7 separate regions of the Homo sapiens genome follow, and regions 2, 3, 4, 5, 6 and 7 are each linked to region 1. Evidence: promoter capture Hi-C in 16 types of primary human blood cells and fetal thymus (Javierre and others, 2016). All regions are on one chromosome and are shown on one strand. Each heading gives the region's core, a stretch centred on a gene start or on the middle of the fragment in contact. The rest is flanking DNA. Distances are from core to core; before and after follow the strand shown.

Region 1 (2,653 bases), core at 93-2,592:
ATTCAAGCTTTTGAAATGGTTTCAGCTCTGTTCAATTGGGCATAGGCTATTTTTCCTTTTCTGTTTTTTTCTTTAAATACATTATATTCATTCCTCTCAATTTGATAATAATCACTTGAGAATTGCGAATTGACACTTACATATCAAGGACTTTACAAAACCCTCTCCAAAGTGGGGTTTCCGTAGTGTAGTGGTTATCACGTTCGCCTAACACGCGAAAGGTCCCCGGTTCGAAACCGGGCGGAAACACACTAAAAAATCCCTTTTTTTTTTTTTTTTTTTTTCCTTCGCTTGGAAGAAAGCGTGAGATCACGCTTTGTTTTCTTTTGTTGTTTGTTTTGTTTTTTTTTCTGAGGGAAGCCTTAGCTTAATGTATGCCGGTCCTTCAAAAGACATGATAGCAATTTGAGAGTCTGAACTGTAAGTTTTTGTTACTTTATTCGTTCACCAAATGTTTTTATGGAAGCCTTGCCACGTGGAACATGTGTCCCGGGTTTTAAAAAATGAATTTGACTCACCAGCTAACACTGAAAAAATAATGTACAGCCTAGAAGGAAAGATCAAAGTGTAAAAGTGGTTAGTCCTGTCGCCTCCTGAGCATTTTTGTATTATATCACTTGGTTTTTCGTCTGAAGTGGCTGTAAATAATCGTATTAAAAATCTTCTGGTCCAGACGCAGGAAAACCTTTTCCGGTATAAAGCCCACCTTCCTCTAATGTTGCGCATGCCCACTGTGCCCAGCTGCTCCGCTTTCGTGCATCCCAGACTTCTGTCACCAGGTAAGGGCATCTTGGAAGCTGAGCTACAGTTGGCTGGGGCACAAAAAAACCAGGGGGTGCCAAGAGTTTTCAGGTACGTAAGCGGGAAAGGGGTGCCAAGTCTCAGCTAAAAAATCCCCTATGGCAGAGATCCGAGTACACATGCAGCAGTTTCCACCGGTGGGGCCCCGAGGAAGGGGAGGATGATGGGAGAAGACAAGCAACTACAAGCCCCCGCACGCAGTGCGCAGCTGGCTTCAGGAGAGAGGCCCGCGGTGCTGTGCTGCCGGGCCTCGGCGCAGAGCCCCGGCAGAGCGCCAGACGCTGACTGCCGGCACCAGAATGCTCGCGATGAGGAAGACAGGCGGAGCGCTGCGAGCTAGCGAGCCCTCAGCTCTCGTATCCATGACGCCTGCTGCTTCGGGGGACCCCTGGCATGCTGGGGAGTGGGTCTCTGTGGTACATCCTGTACCGCCCTGGCCGGCGCCGGACCCCCATGGCCCCAGAACCTCCCGCACTGCCACGGGAAGACAGAGCCGGACGTGACGCCACCGTGGAAGGAAGGGAGGGGCGGAGCGTGGCTCGGTGACGTCCTCCCAAGATGGCGGAGACAGAGTGAAGAAACTGTGTTCCCCCCTTGGGTTGCTATCGGTGAGTTCCTACTTCACCCCCAGCCCGCCATCCCGGTCTCTCTAGAGCCTGGGCCATCAGAGGGCAGGCTCCTTGGAGTTCCAGCACGGGTCGGGGCGCAGGTGGAAGGCTTGGGCTAGGCAGCCCCGGGGTGGCCTGGGCCACAACCTCTGCTGTGGAAATTCGCGGGAGTGGGAGCTGGGCAGAGGGCAGGGCGGCAGAAGCCGAGGAGGGACTGGCTTTGGTTGTCACTCTCGGATGCCGCCTCGCGTAGAGAGTGGGAAGGGAGAAGGTGTGGCCTCCTTAGCGCGAGTGATAGAACCTTTGACAGCAAGCCATGGCCGGGCGCATTCCCGGCTTTCTGGGCAGCCACCTCTCGTTTTGGAGAAACTGCACTGGGGAAACTAACAGGTTTTGGTGACTTGAGAGCAGTTTTTAAAAACTCGTACTGTTCTGCCCCTATCTGTCCCAAGAGATCATGTCTTAGTGGTTTAAAAAATTTTTTTGTAACATAAGTATGTCTACTGAGCTTGAAAATCTGAGGGTTCAACAGATGTGAAAGCGTCAGGTTTTGCTGTGCTTTTTGCAGGTGGTAGAAGTGTTGCCATTCACCGTCACTTATTGATGTGTCCAAAGGATTGTGTTAGTTGATCAAGGTAACCAAAGATAGAAAGGCACTCATCCCTTCATTCTTAACCATGTATGTTTGATAAGGATTTTCAAGGGGGCTAAAATTGTTTAAGTTATGTCCTCTGTCCCTTCCCTCACTGAACGTTGATGAGAACTTACGGTTACTGATTTACTGTTTCTTTTTGTCTTTTAGATCAAGGGTAAAATTCCATTCTGATATCAAAATGCAGTATTCGCACCACTGTGAGCACCTTTTAGAGAGACTGAACAAACAGCGGGAAGCAGGTTTTCTCTGTGACTGTACCATAGTGATTGGGGAATTCCAGTTTAAAGCTCATAGGAATGTGCTGGCCTCCTTTAGTGAGTATTTTGGTGCGATCTACAGAAGCACTTCTGAGAACAATGTCTTTCTTGATCAGAGTCAGGTGAAGGCTGATGGATTTCAGAAACTGTTGGAGTTTATATACACAGGAACTTTAAATCTTGACAGGTAAAGTACACATTTTATTTTCAGTTATAAAAGCTAGTCAGTAGTCTTCACAGCAAAAGTAGATTTGTATTTTTTCCATTCATTCTCTGAACTCAAATTCTTCACCTATTTATGCACACAATGTTTGTTTTTATAAAGAAATCAG
Region 2 (2,653 bases), core at 154-2,653, 460 kb after region 1:
TAATTTTTGTATTTTTAGTGAAAATGGGGTTTCACCATGTTGGCCAGGCTGGTCTGGAACTCCTTACCTCAGGTGATCCATCTGCCTCGGCCTCCCGGAGTGTTGAGATTACAGGCTTGAGCCACCGTGCCCGGCCTATTCCTATATATTTTATAATCATGTGCTTTTGTGAATGGGGTCTTCTTGTAGACCTATTACATACTGTTTTCTTTTTGTATGTTTAAATTAAACTTTCCACCTTACTAATAATTTAACTGTCTTAGAATTTTTAAGCTAGATAATGTCATCTGCAAGTAGCAATTTTGCCTCTTCTTTTCTATATCTTATTTATTTATTTATTATTTATTTTATGTTTTTTGAGACAGAGTCTCACTCTGTCGCCCAGGCTGGAGTGTAGTGGCGTGATCTCGGCTCACTGCAACCTCCGCGTCCCAAGTTCAAGTGATTCTCCTGCCTCAGCCTCCTGAGTAGCTAGGATTACAGGCGTGCACCACCACACCTGGCTAATTTTTGTAGTTTTAGTAGAGATGGGGATTCGCCATGTTGGCCAGACTGGTCTCGAACGCCTGACCTCAGGTAATCCACCCACCTTGGCCTCCCAAAGTGCTAGGATTACAGGTGTGAGCCACTGCGCCCAGCCTTATTTATTTTTAGCCATAGGCTAGAATTTTCTAGACAGTATTGAATTATAGTAATAATCTCTTATCTTAGTGAAATATAATAGAAAAATTTCTGTCAATTAAAGAAAAAAGCTTTTAAAGAATTAAAGTTAGTGTTATTCAGAAATGTTACTGAGGCCGAGTGTGGTGGCTCACGCCTGTAATTGTGCCACTGCACTTCAACCTGGGTGACAGAGCGAGACTCTGTCTCAAAAAAAACTCAACTGAAAAAAGTGGAACAAAAGAAAAAGAACCATGATAAGTATTTTGCACTTTTTTTTTTTTTGAGGCACATTTCTACTCTGTCACCCAGGCTGAGTACAGTGGTGTAATCACAGCTCACTGCAGCCTTAACTGCCCAGGCTCACGCAGTCCTCCTACCTCAGCCTCCCAAGTAGTTGGGACTGTAGGCACACACCACTATGTCTGGCTAATTTTTAATTTTTTTGTAGAGACAAGGTCTCCCTGTGTTGCCCAGGCAGGCCTCGAACTCCTGTACCGAAGCGATCCTCCCACATTGGCCTTTCAAAGTGCTGGGATTATGGCATGAGCCACCTTGCCTGGCTGCACTCATTTATTTTCATTTATTTTTCATTTTTTGAGTCAGTGTCTTCCTCCATCACCCAGGCTAGAGTGCAATGACATAGTCACAGCTCACTGCAGCCTCAACTTCCTGGGCTCAAGCTGCACTTATTTAGTCTTCATGATAATACTCAGAGGCAGATATGATTATCTCCATTTTTCAGATAACATTGAGACTTACTAACCCACAATACAAAGCTGGGTGTGTTTTTTTTTTTAGAGACAGAGTCTTGCTCTGTCGCCCAAGCTGAAGTCCAATGGCTCGATCATGGCTCACTGCAGCCTTGAACTCCTGGGCTCAAATGATTCTCGTGAGTAGCTGGGACTACGCTATGCTTGGCTAATTACAAAAAAATTTTTTTTAGAGACAGGGTCTTGTTCTGTCACTGAGGCTGGCCTTGAACTCCTGAGGTGATCCTCCCGCCTCAGCATCCTGAGTAGGTGGGATTACAGGCACGAGCCACCTTGCCCAGCCAAAACTGGACCTTGAACTTCAAAGAGATTTCTCTTTTCCCCTTACTACATTGACAGGGCTTTATAACATTGCTTTTTTACTTTATTGTTACATTCATATTTCACAATTGTTATTTTTGAATTCACTATCTTCTTCATTATTAAAAGGTGGAAATTGCTTTATGACCTTTTTTATAATTAATAATTTGGGGGGTGATACTTTGAGATTATATGAATACTCTAGTCCCCCAAAACATTTTGCCCAATGGTCTTACCATTCATGGATAATCCTGCCTAAACCAATTATTATAATGGTTATTGCAAATAAAAGTATTTTTTCGAATAGCCTAATTTAGAAGAAAAGCTTACACTGAGGTAGCAGAAGGACTGAATGTGATTCTTTTGGGGGTTTATTTTTAAAAGCAATTAGTCCTAAGGAAAAACTTTATAATAGATTCTATATTTTAGAATATAGGCACATTGAAAGCAGTTTGTCTTCTGAAGCTCAATAGCAAAATAAAAAATGCTTAAAAAAATTCAGCTAAAACCATATCTAAATTTGCCATTTTGGGAATCTTTGTGATAAAGCAGATTATATTCTGTTGAGGATCAGTGGTAAAATAATTTATGCTAGTGCTGAAGTTAAACTGGAAAAAACATCATACGTGCATAATTTGTTTTATACCTTTAGAATGTAATATCTTTATTTTGCAGTTCATTTTTAGCTTTGGTACTGTAACAAGGATCTGGTGATTGTGGAATGTTATGAACATAGTGGTTTCGCAATTACTGAGAGCTAAGTGTTTATATAAAACTCCCTTGAATGTTTTAGTTCCTGGAACTTAAGGAGTGGTAGTTGATAAAGCATAACTCCTTCATTGAGTCTCTGATGGGTATCTATACTTAAACTTTTTTTTTTTTAAACAGAATCTCACTTTATCATCCAGGCTGGAGTGCAG
Region 3 (2,653 bases), core at 64-2,563, 420 kb after region 1:
TACAGTGGCACGATCTCGGCTCACTGCAACCTCTGCCTCCTGGGTTCATGTGATTATCTTGCCTCAGCCTCAAAAGTAGCTGGGATTACAGGCATGCACCACCATGCCCTGCTAATTTTGTATTTTTAGTAGAGGCGGGATTTCACTATGTTGACCAGACTGGTCTCGAACTCCTGACCTCATGATCCACCCACCTCAGCCTCCCAAAGTGTTGGGATTACAGGCGTGAGCCACCACGCCCAGCAAGAATTTTTTTTTGAGAGGGAGTCTTGCTTTGTCACCCAGGCTGGAGTGCAGTGGCACCATCTCGGCTCACTGCAAGCTCCACCTCCTGGGTTCACGCCATTCTCCTGCCTCAGCCTCCCCAGTAACTGGGACTACAGGCACCCGCCACCACACCCAGCTAATATTTGTATTTTTAGTAGAGACGGGGTTTCACCGTATTAGCCAGGATGTTCTCGATCTCCTGACCTTGTGATCCACCCACCTCGGCCTCCCAAAGTGCTGGGATTACAGGCATGGGCCACCAAGCCCGGCCCATTAAGAATTTTTTTTTAAGGCAGGGTCTCACTCTCTTGCCCAGGCTGGAGTGGAATGGCACGATCATGGCTCACTGCAACCTCAACCTCCCTGGGCTCAGGTGACCCTCCCACTTCAGTGCATCCCACCACACATGGCTAATTTTTGTATTTTTTGTACAGATGGGGCTTCACCATGCTGCCCAGGCTGCTCTTGAACTCCTGAGCTCAAGTCATCTCCCATCTTGGCCTCCCAAAGTGCTAGGATTACAGGCATGAGCCACCACGCCCAACCTAGCCAACGATTTTGTATGTAGCAAAACTAAGTTTCATAAATAAAGGAGAAATAAAATCATTTTCAGACAAACAAATGCTTAGGGAACTTGTCACTACCAGACCAGCCCAACAAGAAATGCTAAAAGCTGTTCTAAATCCTGAAACAAAAGGCTGATATGCACTAGAGTAGAACCTCTTGATGGCATAAAACTCATGGGGCATATAAAACAATAACACAGTGAATAAAACAAAGTATCTAGGTAACAAATAACATGATGACTGGAACAGTACCTCACATCTCTCTTTTTTTTTTTGAGATGGAGTCTCACTCTGGCGCCAGGCTAGAGTACATTGGCACAATCTCGGCTTACCGCAACCTCTGACTCCCTGGTTCAAGCAATTTTCTGCCTCAGCCTCCCGAGTAGCTTGGATTACAGGTGCCTGCCACCATGCTCAGCTAATTTTTGTATTTTTAGTGGAGACGGGGTTTCCCCATGTTGGCCAGGATGGTCTCCATCTCTTGACCTCGTGATCTGCCCGCCTCAGCCTCCCAAAGTGCTGGGATTGCAGGCATGGCCTTTTTGGGTTTTTTTGTTTTTTGCAGGGAGGGGACAGGGTCTTGCTCTGTCACCTGGGCTGGAGTGCAGTGGTACAATCTTGGCTCACTGTAACCTCCACCTCCTGGGCTCAAGTGGGCTTCCCACCTCAGCCTCCTGAGTAGCTGGGACTATAGGTGTGCACCATCACACCCAGTTAAGTTTGTGTGTGTGTGTGTGTGTGTGTGTGTGTGTGTGTGTATTTTTTGTAGAGATGGGGTTTCGCCATGTTGCCCAGGCTGCTCTGGAATTCCTGGGCTCAAGTAATTCTTCCACCTCAGCTTCCCAAAGTGCTAGCATTATAGGTGTGAGCCACCACCATACCCAGCCTCAAATCTCAATATTAATGTTGAATGTAAACAGCCTAAATGCTTCACTTAAAAGATACAGATTGGCAGAATGGGTCTAAAAATTGCAAACCAAATATCTGTTGTCTTCAAGGGACTTATATAACACATAAAGATTCAGATAAACTCAAGGTAAAGGAGTGGATAAAGATATTCCATGCAAATGGAAACCCAAAGCAAGCAGGAGTAGCTATTCTTCTATCAGATAAGATAGACTTTAAAGCAACAACAGCCAGGTGTGGCAGTTCACACCTGCAATCTCAGCCCTTTGGGAGGCTGAGGCAGGAGGATCCCTTGAACCCAGGAGTTCAAGACCAGCCTAGGCAACACAGCAAGACCCTGTCTCTATGAAAAAATTTAAAAATTAGCCTGGTGTGGTGGTGTGTGCCTGCAATCCCAGCTAATGAGGAGGCTGAAGTGGGACAATCACTTGTGTGTCGTAGGTTCAGGCTGCAGTGAGCTGTGATCATCCCACTCTACTCCTGCCTGAGCAATAAAGCCAGACCCTGTCTCAATAAATAAATAAGTAAATAGCAACAACAGTAAAAAAAAAAAAAAAAAGGACAAAGAAGATAATTATATAATGATAAAAGGATCAATCCAACAAGAAGATATTACAATCCTAAATTCATATGTACCAATACTGGAGCTCTAAGATTCATAAAACATTTACTACTGGACCTAAGAAATGAGATAGACAGCAACACAATGATAGTGGGGCACTTCAACACTCCACTCGCAGCATTAGACAGATCATCAAGACAGAAAGTCGGCAAAGAAAAAAATGGATTTAAAACTACACTCTAGAACAAATGGACCTAACGGATATTTACAGAACATTCTACCAGAGAACTGCAGGATAAACATTCTTCTCTTCAGCACGTGGAACATTTTCCAAGACAGATCATATGATAGG
Region 4 (2,653 bases), core at 115-2,614, 400 kb after region 1:
ATGCCTGTAGTCCCAGCTGCCTGGGAGGCTGAGGCAGGAGAATCGCTTGAACCCAAGAGGTGGAGGTTGCAATGAGCCAAGATCACACCACTGCACTCCAGCCTGGGCGACAGAGCAAGGCTTCATCTCAAAAAAAAAAAAAAAAGTCTTTCTTTTAAAAATTACCAACTGAGAACTTCTGTGAATTCTCACTGTTTATCTTACTAATATGAGTCTTCAGTATGTTAGAAATATTATCAGCCAGGTGTAGTGGCTCATGCCTATACCACATAATCCCAGCACTTTGTGACCTGTGGTTGGAGGATCACTTGAGCTCAGGAGTTCGAGACCAGTCTGCCTGGGGAACACAGCGAGACCTCAACTCTAATAAAAATTTTAAAAATGAGCCAGGCATAGTGGTGTGCGCCTGTAGTCCCAGCTACTCAGCAGTCTGAGGTAGGAGGATCACTTGAGCCTGGGAGATTGAGGCGGTAGTGAGTTATGATCGTGCCACTGCACTCCAGCCTCAGAGGAAGACTCTGTCAAAGGAAAGGAAAGGGAATGGAAAGGCAAAGTCAAAGGGAAAGGGAAAGGAAGGCTAAAATTCTCCCTGTCTTCCCTTTTGAAAAAAAAATTAAAGTAAAAAAGGAAAAGAAATATTACCCATTTATGCAAACATATTTTCTCCCATTTTGCTGTTTTCACTTTGCTTATGCCGTTTTTTGGCAGAAGTAGAATTTTTAGTTGGTTTAACTTCCATTTTAAAATTTAACTAGATCTTTGCTCCATTTAAGTTGAAATACTAAAGACATAAACCTAAAGGCTCAGTCCGAATTAGTTTTAGAGCCAAACAATCATAAAATCACCACTCCACGGCCGGGCACGGTGGCTCACGCCTGTAATCCCAGCACTTTGGGAGGCCGAGGCAGGTGGATCACAAGGTCAAGAGATTGAGACCATCATGGCTAAGACGGTGAAATCCCATCTCTAAAAAATTAGCAGGGTGCGGTGGCGGGCGCCTGTAGTCCCAGCTACTCAGGAGGCTGATGCAGGAGAATGGCGTGAACTCGGGAGGCGGAGCTTGCGGTGAGCCGAGATCACGCCACTGCACTCCAGCCTGGGAGACAGAGCGAGACTCCGTCTCAAAAAAAAAAAAAAAAAAAAAATCACCACTCCACTACTGACAATAGTGTAGAATTAGTCATGATTCTAATTAGAGAAAAGAAAAGAATGCAGGTACCCACTCGTTACCTATACATTCAATTAACAAGTCTACTCTCCAAACCACATATAGATGGAGTATCTGTTATATGAAATCCTTGCGACCAGAAGTGTTTCGGATTTTTTTTTTTTTTTCAGATTTTGGAAAGATACAAACTGGTTTAGCATGCCAAATCTAAAAATCCAAAATCCAAAATGTTCCAATGAACACTCCTCCTTTGAATGTCATGTTGGTGTGCAAAAATTTCAGATTTTAGAGCATTTCGGGTTTTCATATTAGGAATAATCAATCAGTAGGTACACAGTTCCCCCAGGTGGTATGACTGGACTTTGGACTTGATTTTTAAAATAATATTCCATTTCCCCATTGGGATCCCACTCCTACTCTAAGCCCCAACTACCTAGCTGGTTACCTGACAGCTGTTTTTTCTTCTGGAGAATGGACCCTTTCCCACGGCTTCACTGTTATCTGGAAACCTAACTCAAAATAATCAAAACTCTGAAAACTACTAGTCTGTTACCTGATGGCTCATTATCATCACTACTTAAGAGATCTGTTACCATGCTCCCCCCCGTTTTTGGATATTGACCTAAATTTACTAAGTTACCTTGGGCATTGTAATTTTTACTGCTAGTCAAATTACTTGAGCAGAAGCTCACAACGGATAGTAAATAAAGCAAATGTAATGTATTATTCCTTTATTTTACTGGGAATCTGTTCTTCCTACTTACTTATCTTCCCCCACCAGCCATTTACAGCTTTTGGCATACTTCATGGTATAATGCTGCTGGTTTATGACAAGTAACATTAACAATGTCATATATATAAGCACAATCACTAGAATTCTAACTTCTGTGAATGTCACATACATAAAGCCATAATGAAAGACAGTTTAAAAAGATACCTTTTAATAACATGAAGGAAAAAAATTCAAAATAACATATCTATACAAATACATCCTATTGTTATTCCAGTATTTCACAGAATAAAGAATTTGTCTATATAATTTCCTTCAGTAGCCCACAAAATATTTACCACTCCTTTCCTTAATTACCATTGTATTAAAGACATCTGATGTCAATGACAAAAACTCCAGTATTAATGCTTAAGAGCTAGGTTACATTATTTAAGTTTTTCATTTAATCTAACATCTTCAAGTCATAGGGAACTTTTTAAACTAATCTTGTTCACACTCCAGGACATTCCCACGCCAAAAAAAAAAAGTCAGATCAACAGCCAGAAAAAAAAACCAAACAACAAAAAAAACCACAGCTATATGCTGACCACAGCATGTAGTTAGCAAAGACCATACCCTTAGCTGAAGAAATAGAGCACAATTCCTTAACCTTCAATTCCTTAACAACCTACAAACTATATTGTATTGGAGCCAATTTTATGAAGTATCAAAGTATTACCATTCTGGACCAGGAAAAAATATCTAGAAAGGACATT
Region 5 (2,653 bases), core at 85-2,584, 380 kb after region 1:
TTGCCCAGACTGGAGTGCAAGTGCGCGATTTTGGCTCACTGCAACCTCCGCCTCCTGGGTTCAAGTGATTCTCCTGCCTAAGCCTCCCAAGTAGCTGGGATTACAGGCATACGCCACCACGCCCGGCTAATTTTGTATATTTTTATTAGAGACGGGGTTTCTCCATGTTGGTCAGGCTGGTCTCGAACTCCTGACCTTAGGTTATCCACCCACCTCGGCCTCCCAAAGTGCTAGGATTACAGGCATGAGCCACTGCACCCGGCCACAGTTTTTAAGGATAGCTACAACGTGTTTCAATAAGATTTCTAGTATCTTAAAATATCATTTCCACTACCTCCTAAAAATTAGGGCCAGTGCTCACTTCCGCAGCACATATACTAAAACTGGAACAATACAGAGAAGATTAGCATGGCTCCTGCCCAAAAATGACATTCAAATTCATGAAGCTTTCCATTAGTTTTAATAGGGGATTTTGTATGTTCTCAACACTAAGAAATGATCAATGATTTGAGATGATGGATATGCCAGTTACTCTGATTTGATCACTATACATGATATACATGTATTCAAATATCACCCTGTATCCCATAAATATGTATAGTTATTATGTGTCAGTTAAAAATTAAAAAAGAGCTACTGTTTCATTTTAATATTCCACATAACTTAAAACATCCTAATCAACAGTTTATTCTGTCACATTCTGAGGAGTTTGTGAACAAAAATTAAAACACAGATAATGCATTCACATATATAAAGACATACATGTAACACATAACCAGTGTAAAGCTGTAGTCAAAAGCTCTCAAGCAAAAGAAAATACTACTTCTCAAACAGATGGAAAAATCCTGAATATCAGCTACAAAATTAAATTATAAACACTAAAGTTTAAAACTTCTGTTAAAGAATAAACTAGAGCATTGTTGGCCGGGCGCAGTGGCTCACGCCTGTAATTCCAGCACTTTGGGAGGCCGAGGCGGGCGGATCACAAGGTCAGGAGATCGAGACCATCCTGGCTAACATGGTGAAACCCTGTCTCTACTAAAAAAAAAAAAAAAAAAAAAAATTAAAAAAATTAGCCGGGTGTGGTGGTGGGTGCCTGTAGTCCCAGCTACTCGGGAGGCTGAGGCAGAAGAATGGCGTGAACCTGGGAGGTGGAGCTTGCAGTGAGCCGAGATTGCGCCACTGCACTCCAGCCTGGGCGACAGAGCGACACTCCATCTAAAAAGAGAAAAGAAAAAAAGAAAAAAACCCAATAAACTAGTGCATTGTTAACCTCTAGAAGGATGCGTAAGAAACTGGTAACTGGTTGTATCTATAAAGAGACATTGGAGTGGGGTGGCTAGGGTAATAGGGAAAAGAAAAAGCATACTCTTTTTTTTATCTTTCTAATTTTAGACCACATGTATATATTACCCATTTTAAAAATAAATAATATTTTTGGCCGGGTGAGGTGGCTCCAGCCTATAATCCCAGCACTTTGGGAGGCTGAGGTGGGCGGATCGCAAGGTCAGGAGTTTGAGACCAGCCTGACCAACATGGTGAAATCCCATTTCTACTAAAAATACAAAAATTAGCCAGGTGTGATGGCACGCGCCTGTAATCCCAGCTACTCAGAAGGCTGAGGCAGGAGAATCGCTTGAACCCGGGAGGCGGAGGTTGCAGTGACCCAAGATCACGCCACTACACTCCAGCCTGGGCAACAGAGCGAGACTCTGTCTCAAATACTAGTAATAATAATAATAATATTTTTAAACAGAGAATAATATAATCCAACCTCAAATCATTTTGTGGAACAAAGCACAGAATACAATTAATAAATATTTTATTAGAAAAAAGAATACTTTATTGGACTTCTTATTCAAGCAACAAGGCAGACTGGACTAATACATCCATGTGACCAAACGGTATCACTGAAATGCTAGATCAACATGAAAAAATCAGAATATACAGCAGAACTCCAAAAGGGAGAGAAAAGCTGGGAAAGGAAATTCCTGGTGCCAGAAAGGAAGAAACTCAAAGCCAGAGAGATGTCACCTCAGCTGACACCAAGGCAGTCTATAAGGGTATCTTGGTTCTATAGAGCCAGAAGATCCATCTTTGTGCTTATTTCAGGGGAGGGCTACAAGTCAAATCCCTATTTTGAGCCAAAATCCTGAAAAGAGCTGCCCAATATGTAAGAAGGAGCTGGAAAAGCTCCACCCATACGTTCTGAGAAACAGCAAAGAAGCTTGCATCTGCCCTGCTCCTAGTGGAGGCAGGGAAGGAGGTACCTATGAGAATCAAAACTCCAGGCTTACACCAGGTAGGGGTATAGAATCCACATCCACACTCCCTGTACGGTTCCATAACCCAGCCCAAGACATTAACATCTGAACTAACCCAGGACACTTGTTAAACTGAATGGTGACTGGAGGAAGCTGAGTGAAGTTTATATAGGAGGACCTCTCTGTACTAGTTTTGCAACTTCCTATGATTTATAGGAATTTAATTTATAATTATTTTAAAATAAAAAAGTTTAAAAAACTGTATAGTAGGCACATGACAGTTGGTTATCTAATTCTCTAAATGTATATATATCACATATTTTTATTTTAATATAATAGTTAAATGTATAAATCAATGCATAAATACCACTAATACAATACAGAATTAT
Region 6 (2,653 bases), core at 106-2,605, 360 kb after region 1:
TAAGGACAGCATTAGGTCTAAAAGAACCTATGATCCTAACTGAGTCTAGGGCCCTGTTATGGACTGAATGTTTGTGGCACAAAATTCGTATGCTGAAGCCCTAACTCCCAATGTGTATTTGTAGATGGGGCCTCTAAGGAAGTAACAAAGGTTAAATGAGGTCATAGGGTGGGGCCCTGACATGACATGGTTTGTGCCCTTTTAAGAAAAGACATCAGAGAGCTTCTGCTCCCTCCACCCACCACACACTCAAGGCCATGTGAGGACATCTGCAAGCCAGGAAGTGAGCCTTCACCAGAAACTGAACACTGCCAGACCTCGATCTTGGGCTTTCCAGCCTCCAGGACTGTGAGAAAATTAATTTCTGCTCTTTAAGCCACAGTCTATGGTATTTTGTTATGGCAGCTGGAGCAGATTGATTAATACAGGACCTTCTCACTACACAATGAATTAATGTCTACAAAAAACAGTATATATTTTTTCCAATTAAGCTAGTTTCATAAAAGCTCTAAAAACTGTGATAGAAAAACTTCAGCTCTAATACAGTTCATGTTTCCAAACATTTAAAGTTTGACCTTATTTTACATATTAAAAATAGAATTTACTATGTATCAAGTGGAAACTCCACCTTCAAAAAGAAATGATAAAGAAAACCAAGTTACTTTGGCACCCTAAAAATACATATAAGAAAACAATAACCATGTATACTATAATAATTAGACTATACTACATTAGAATACAAGTAGATTTTTTTACATTTAAAATGACTTGAAGGAACATTTTTCTAATTGAGGACAAATAATCAATTGAGAATATCTCAAAATATCTTCGCTTCAGATTAACTTTTTTTTTTTTTTTTAGATGGAGTCTCGCTCTTTTGCCAGGCAGGAGTGCAGTGGTGTGATCTCGACTCACTGCAACCTCCGCCTCCCAGGTTCAAGCGATTCTCCTGCCTCAGCCTCCAGAGTAGCTGGAATTACAAGAGCGCGCCACCATGCCTGGCTAATTTTTGTATTTTTAGTAGAGACGGGGTTTCACCATGTTGGCCAGGATGGTCTCGATCTCTTGACCTCATGATCTGCCCGCCTCAGCCTCCCAAAGTGCTGGGATTACAGGCGTGAGCCACCGTGCCAGGCCAAGATTAACTTCTTACCAATAAAAGCAGAAAAACTAAAAAGGTGAAAAATATAGCTATAGCCTTAATAGAAGATATGAATGGCTTTGAATAACTGCAGTGTAAGGCTTAAGAAACTTTTAAGTAGTTCAGGATTTTCTGCGTGGTTTGTTTATAATCAACAACATCAAGGAAAATTGGAGTATATGTAAGATCTGAATTTGGACTTAAAACTGACCTGAGACTCTGGTGGTTTTGGCTTACTGGTTTCCTCCATACTTACACAAGATATTGACCATCAGAGGAATGCAAACTATAAGCATATTATCACACTATTAATGAAAGAGGGGAGAATAAGCTGCAATTCAGAACCAGATATTGAGAGTTAAGGGGGACTGAAAAATCCAAAACTAGATTTCCTTGCTTGAACTAACCCTGAAAGAGTTCCCGGCTTTCTCTGAAAGTAACGTTCTCTTTAGAAAGAAATCAATCTACCTTTCATTATAATTTATCAAAACTGCAGGAATCACTAGAAATTGTCCCTGAGCAGTCATCCTAAGGACCATGGGTCACCATTGCTCCACACTGTCAAAACTAGCCAGACGCTGGTTTGAGGCTGAGAATACTCTGTACAGTAGTGTAAAAACCCAGCTTTTATGCCATACAGAGAGCAGCGCCTAGCACACAGAGGTTTAAAAAAAAAAAATAAGAATTCGTGTCTAACTATACTACGAATATATATATATATATTTTTGAGACGGAGTCTTGCTCTGTCACCCAGGCTGGAGTGCAATGGGGCGATTCCGGCTCACTGTAACCTCCACCTCCCCGGTTCAAGTAATTCTCCTGCCTCAGCCTCCCATGTAGCTGGGACTACAGGTGCCGGCCACTACGCACGGCTAATTTTTGTATTTTTAGTAGAGACGGGGTTTCACCATGTTGGTCAGGCTGGTCTAGAACTCCCGACCTGAGGTGATCTGCCCTCCTCAGCCTCCCAAAGTGCTGGGATTATAGATGTGAGCTACCGCGCCCAGCTTGAATATATTTATTAATTTATACATTATATCAAAGCCTACTTACATAAGATTCAGATTTAACAATTCTAAGTATAGTGATACCTAATTAGTACCAATAAGAAAGACTGCAATAATTCCCAAAATCCAAGTGGGAAAAAAAAATGAACTATTAATCCAACAAATATGTACCTCCTACCTAACATACGTAAGTACGTATAAGATACAACTTAGTGCTGTCAAGATACAAGGATGAAAAGATGAATCCAAAAAGGGATTAAAGAGTTAATGTAAAGTACTAACACAGTGCCTCACACATACATAAATGCCCAATATTATTATCTTACCCTCAAGGAGCTTACTATCTAGCAGACAAGCTAAGATCAGTATATAAGTAACTATAAAGGAAAGAGAACCAGAAGGGACCATAAAAGTTCAGAGGGAGGAGAAATTTCTAACTAGGGTAATCAGACAATGCCACAGTATTGAGATTCAGTGATGTAGAGAATGCTGGCAGTATTAACAC
Region 7 (2,653 bases), core at 97-2,596, 310 kb after region 1:
ACAGTGTATTGGTTTAATTGTCACAAGCTTAATTTAAAAGACATTGGATTACCTTTGGATCCATTTGTCAACTGGAAGTGCTGCTTCATTCCACTTACAATTCCTAATCTTGAGCAAATTGAAAAGCCTATATCAATAATGATTTGTTAATATTATTAATTAAAAGTTACAGCTGTCATAAGATCATAATTTTATGAACAGAAAGAACTCAGGACATATTAAAAAATAAACTGAACTAAAACAACTTTTGCCCCCTGACTGATAGCATTTCAGAATGTGTCTTTTGAAGGGCTATGATACCAGTTATTAAATAGTGTTTTATTTTAAAAACAAAATAATTCCAAGAAGTTTTTATAGTTATTCAGGGACACTATATTACAAATATTACTTTGTTATTAACACAAAAAGTGATAAGAGTTAACATTTGGCTATACTGATGTTTGTGTTACTCAAAAAAACTACTGGATGCAAACTGTTATGTAAATCTGAGATTTCACTGACAACTTTAAGATATCAACCTAAACATTTTTATTAAATGTTCAAATGAAAGCAAGAAAGTAAAAATTGTTCTTAAAATGATTTGGCATAAAGTTCAATGTAAGAGGAAGAAGAAGATTACCTCATTTTAAATGTAGCTAATTAATTTTAAAAAGTATATCTCTGTTTTTAATGCAAATATTCCTGGAAGAAGAGGGTTTTGGTTGCTCACCTTATGGAACTGGGAGCAGTGACTAGGTCCCTTTCGATGATTCAGCAGATTCGTTTTCATATTATAAAACTTGTATGTCATCACATACTTGCATATCACATCATAATCACGTTAGCAATGATGTATCACACGTAAAAGTAGAATTTCTCATCCTCGGCACGCTTGACATTTGGGGTTGGTTAATTTTTTGTTGTGGGGCAGTTTAGCAGGATCCCTGCTCTCTGCCCACTGACTGATTGGTGGCACCTCCATGCCCAGTAGACACAATAAAAAATGTCTCCAGACATTGCCAAATCTCCCCCGGTGGATAGGCAGAGTTGCTTCACTGGAGTAAAACAATATGAGTGGCAGGATCATCATCTTACATTACTTTAGGAATTAAGCTACATAGATATTTTTTATCACCATTTAAAAATACTATATTGCATAAATCTAAACCTAGCTTTTCCTAAATTGGTGGCTTTTGATTTTTTTTGATATTTATAGTAAGATATATTTTTTAACATCATGACCTATAGACTTGTATGTACGTTTATGTGTACATACAAGTAACATACTTACCCTTACATAACATGTATAACATGTACATGTACATACAAGTATAACAATACTTACCCTTACATATCATGCAAATATGTTTTTTAGTGTCATTTTTTAAATGCTGGTTTTTATCCACTAAATTGAGTTGATGATCCACAAATGGATTACTTTCTGTTATTTGAAAAAATGTCCTAAAACAAGCGCTATGGAACACTAATAATGGCAAAAAGATTTAAGAAATGTGTCCTGTGTGCCAGGTACCGTCTTAAGTGTTTGTTTTACATGCAGCAACTGATTTAATCCTTATAGCAACTCTGACAGGAACTATTATCCCCTTCTTACAGATGAGGAAATTTAAACATTGAAAGTAAGAAACTCACTATGATACAACTAGACAGACATTGGGGAAGCTGGGATGCAAACCCAGAATTCTGGTCCACAGTTCTTGCTCTTTACCACTGTATTACATTGCCTTTCATTGGTGCCACTGACTTCTCAAAAAGAAAAGAATGGTTTCAGAGTCAAATGTGAAGAATGTTGTTTCTTAATTATTATTATTTATTTTTCACTTGAAAATGTACAACGCCCATGAACACCTTAAGGCTTTATAGTGCTATAATGAAGAAGAAGAAAACCATTTACTTGAGCACACAAGTCTCTTTAATTAGCTAAAATTAATTAATTAAGCATCTATAAAGACAAGTTGGGAAATGCTCCTGGAGAGTCAGTCAAGAATTCTTTGAGTAGCAGGTAATACAAACTCAACCTGAGCCATTCTAAGAACAAGCTGGATATTGGCAAGAACTTACTTAGTAAACTACTAGGAGAATCTCTCTGAGTTGTCGGTTTCCATTTTGTGTCCACAAAGTGGGTGTTCTGGCTGCCAGCAGCTCAGGGCTTTCATAATTAATTACACTTACTTAAAGCATCTCCTAACTTCTTCAAATATACAGTCCCGGGGAATGACTGTTCAACCTGACTTCAATCATATGTCCACCTCTCTATGATCAGATCTGTTAACAGAAGACATGGCAGGGAAGAGAAATAATAACCAATATAATGGGTGGTACAATGTTAAAATATATATATACTTGAGAAAATAATAAATAATAGGAATAAAAATCACATTCTATAAAAACCAAATGCATATAGACAGCCAACTATATCGAAAGTTTAGGACAAATAATCCTATGTTCAAGACAACATCAGGGTGTGTTTAAACAGTTTAGAACTCTTCTTAAACCCGGCCCCCTCTTTCCTTCTATTACTTTTTCCTCTAAATATATTGCCTTCTAGTTGTTGGCCAAATATGGGACTGAAATATGTTTAAATATATTGAAATTAATCAGTAAAGACTTGCTTACACTCTTTGCAGATTTTAAATCAGGAGATTTTTAAAACCAT

The links. The method cuts DNA at HindIII sites, captures the fragments that hold promoters and counts their contacts. A CHiCAGO score of 5 or more calls a contact.
Region 2: a contact is called between a fragment that was not itself captured here and the fragment with the promoter of MYNN in region 1, in 1 of 17 cell types (non-activated CD4 T cells). The highest score is 5.6, in non-activated CD4 T cells.
Region 3: a fragment that was not itself captured here is called in contact with the fragment with the promoter of MYNN in region 1 in 7 of 17 cell types (non-activated CD4 T cells, fetal thymus, activated CD4 T cells and 4 more); the score reaches 7.8 in non-activated CD4 T cells.
Region 4: a fragment that was not itself captured here is called in contact with the fragment with the promoter of MYNN in region 1 in 12 of 17 cell types (fetal thymus, naive CD4 T cells, total B cells and 9 more); the score reaches 9.7 in fetal thymus.
Region 5: a fragment that was not itself captured here is called in contact with the fragment with the promoter of MYNN in region 1 in 13 of 17 cell types (total B cells, naive B cells, naive CD4 T cells and 10 more); the score reaches 12.1 in total B cells.
Region 6: a contact is called between a fragment that was not itself captured here and the fragment with the promoter of MYNN in region 1, in 5 of 17 cell types (total B cells, non-activated CD4 T cells, neutrophils and 2 more). The highest score is 8.5, in total B cells.
Region 7: a contact is called between a fragment that was not itself captured here and the fragment with the promoter of MYNN in region 1, in 11 of 17 cell types (naive B cells, total B cells, total CD8 T cells and 8 more). The highest score is 10.0, in naive B cells.

The regions. Positions count from the first base shown.
Region 1 is chr3:169,772,054-169,774,706 of GRCh38, forward strand. MYNN (myoneurin) reads left to right here and starts at 1,343. Exons shown (of 8, transcript NM_018657.5): 1 at 1,343-1,409; 2 at 2,212-2,508. The coding sequence starts at 2,243. It overlaps TRV-AAC1-1 (tRNA-Val (anticodon AAC) 1-1), which reads left to right and starts at 177; the gene lies at 177-249. RefSeq lists enhancers at 883-1,432, 1,006-1,509, 1,148-1,442. The HindIII fragment of the contact is 7,916 bases long and covers 6-2,653 here.
Region 2 is chr3:170,231,125-170,233,777 of GRCh38, forward strand. The region is part of intron 1 of PRKCI (protein kinase C iota); the gene reads left to right. Among named protein-coding and RNA genes, the nearest start is that of PRKCI, 10 kb to the left of the region's middle. The HindIII fragment of the contact is 1,306 bases long and covers 751-2,056 here.
Region 3 is chr3:170,191,518-170,194,170 of GRCh38, forward strand. No RefSeq gene overlaps it. Among named protein-coding and RNA genes, the nearest start is that of PHC3, 11 kb to the left of the region's middle. The HindIII fragment of the contact is 3,214 bases long and covers 1-2,653 here.
Region 4 is chr3:170,167,631-170,170,283 of GRCh38, forward strand. All of the region lies in intron 4 of PHC3 (polyhomeotic homolog 3), which reads right to left. Among named protein-coding and RNA genes, the nearest start is that of PHC3, 13 kb to the right of the region's middle. The HindIII fragment of the contact is 5,194 bases long and covers 1-2,653 here.
Region 5 is chr3:170,149,492-170,152,144 of GRCh38, forward strand. The region is part of intron 4 of PHC3 (polyhomeotic homolog 3); the gene reads right to left. It also overlaps the pseudogene RNU6-315P. Among named protein-coding and RNA genes, the nearest start is that of PHC3, 31 kb to the right of the region's middle. The HindIII fragment of the contact is 1,781 bases long and covers 445-2,225 here.
Region 6 is chr3:170,132,340-170,134,992 of GRCh38, forward strand. The region is part of intron 7 of PHC3 (polyhomeotic homolog 3); the gene reads right to left. Among named protein-coding and RNA genes, the nearest start is that of PHC3, 48 kb to the right of the region's middle. The HindIII fragment of the contact is 4,408 bases long and covers 1-2,653 here.
Region 7 is chr3:170,084,840-170,087,492 of GRCh38, forward strand. It overlaps GPR160 (G protein-coupled receptor 160), which reads left to right. Exons shown (of 4, transcript NM_014373.3): 4 at 1-553. The coding sequence ends at 150. Among named protein-coding and RNA genes, the nearest start is that of GPR160, 48 kb to the left of the region's middle. The HindIII fragment of the contact is 2,642 bases long and covers 26-2,653 here.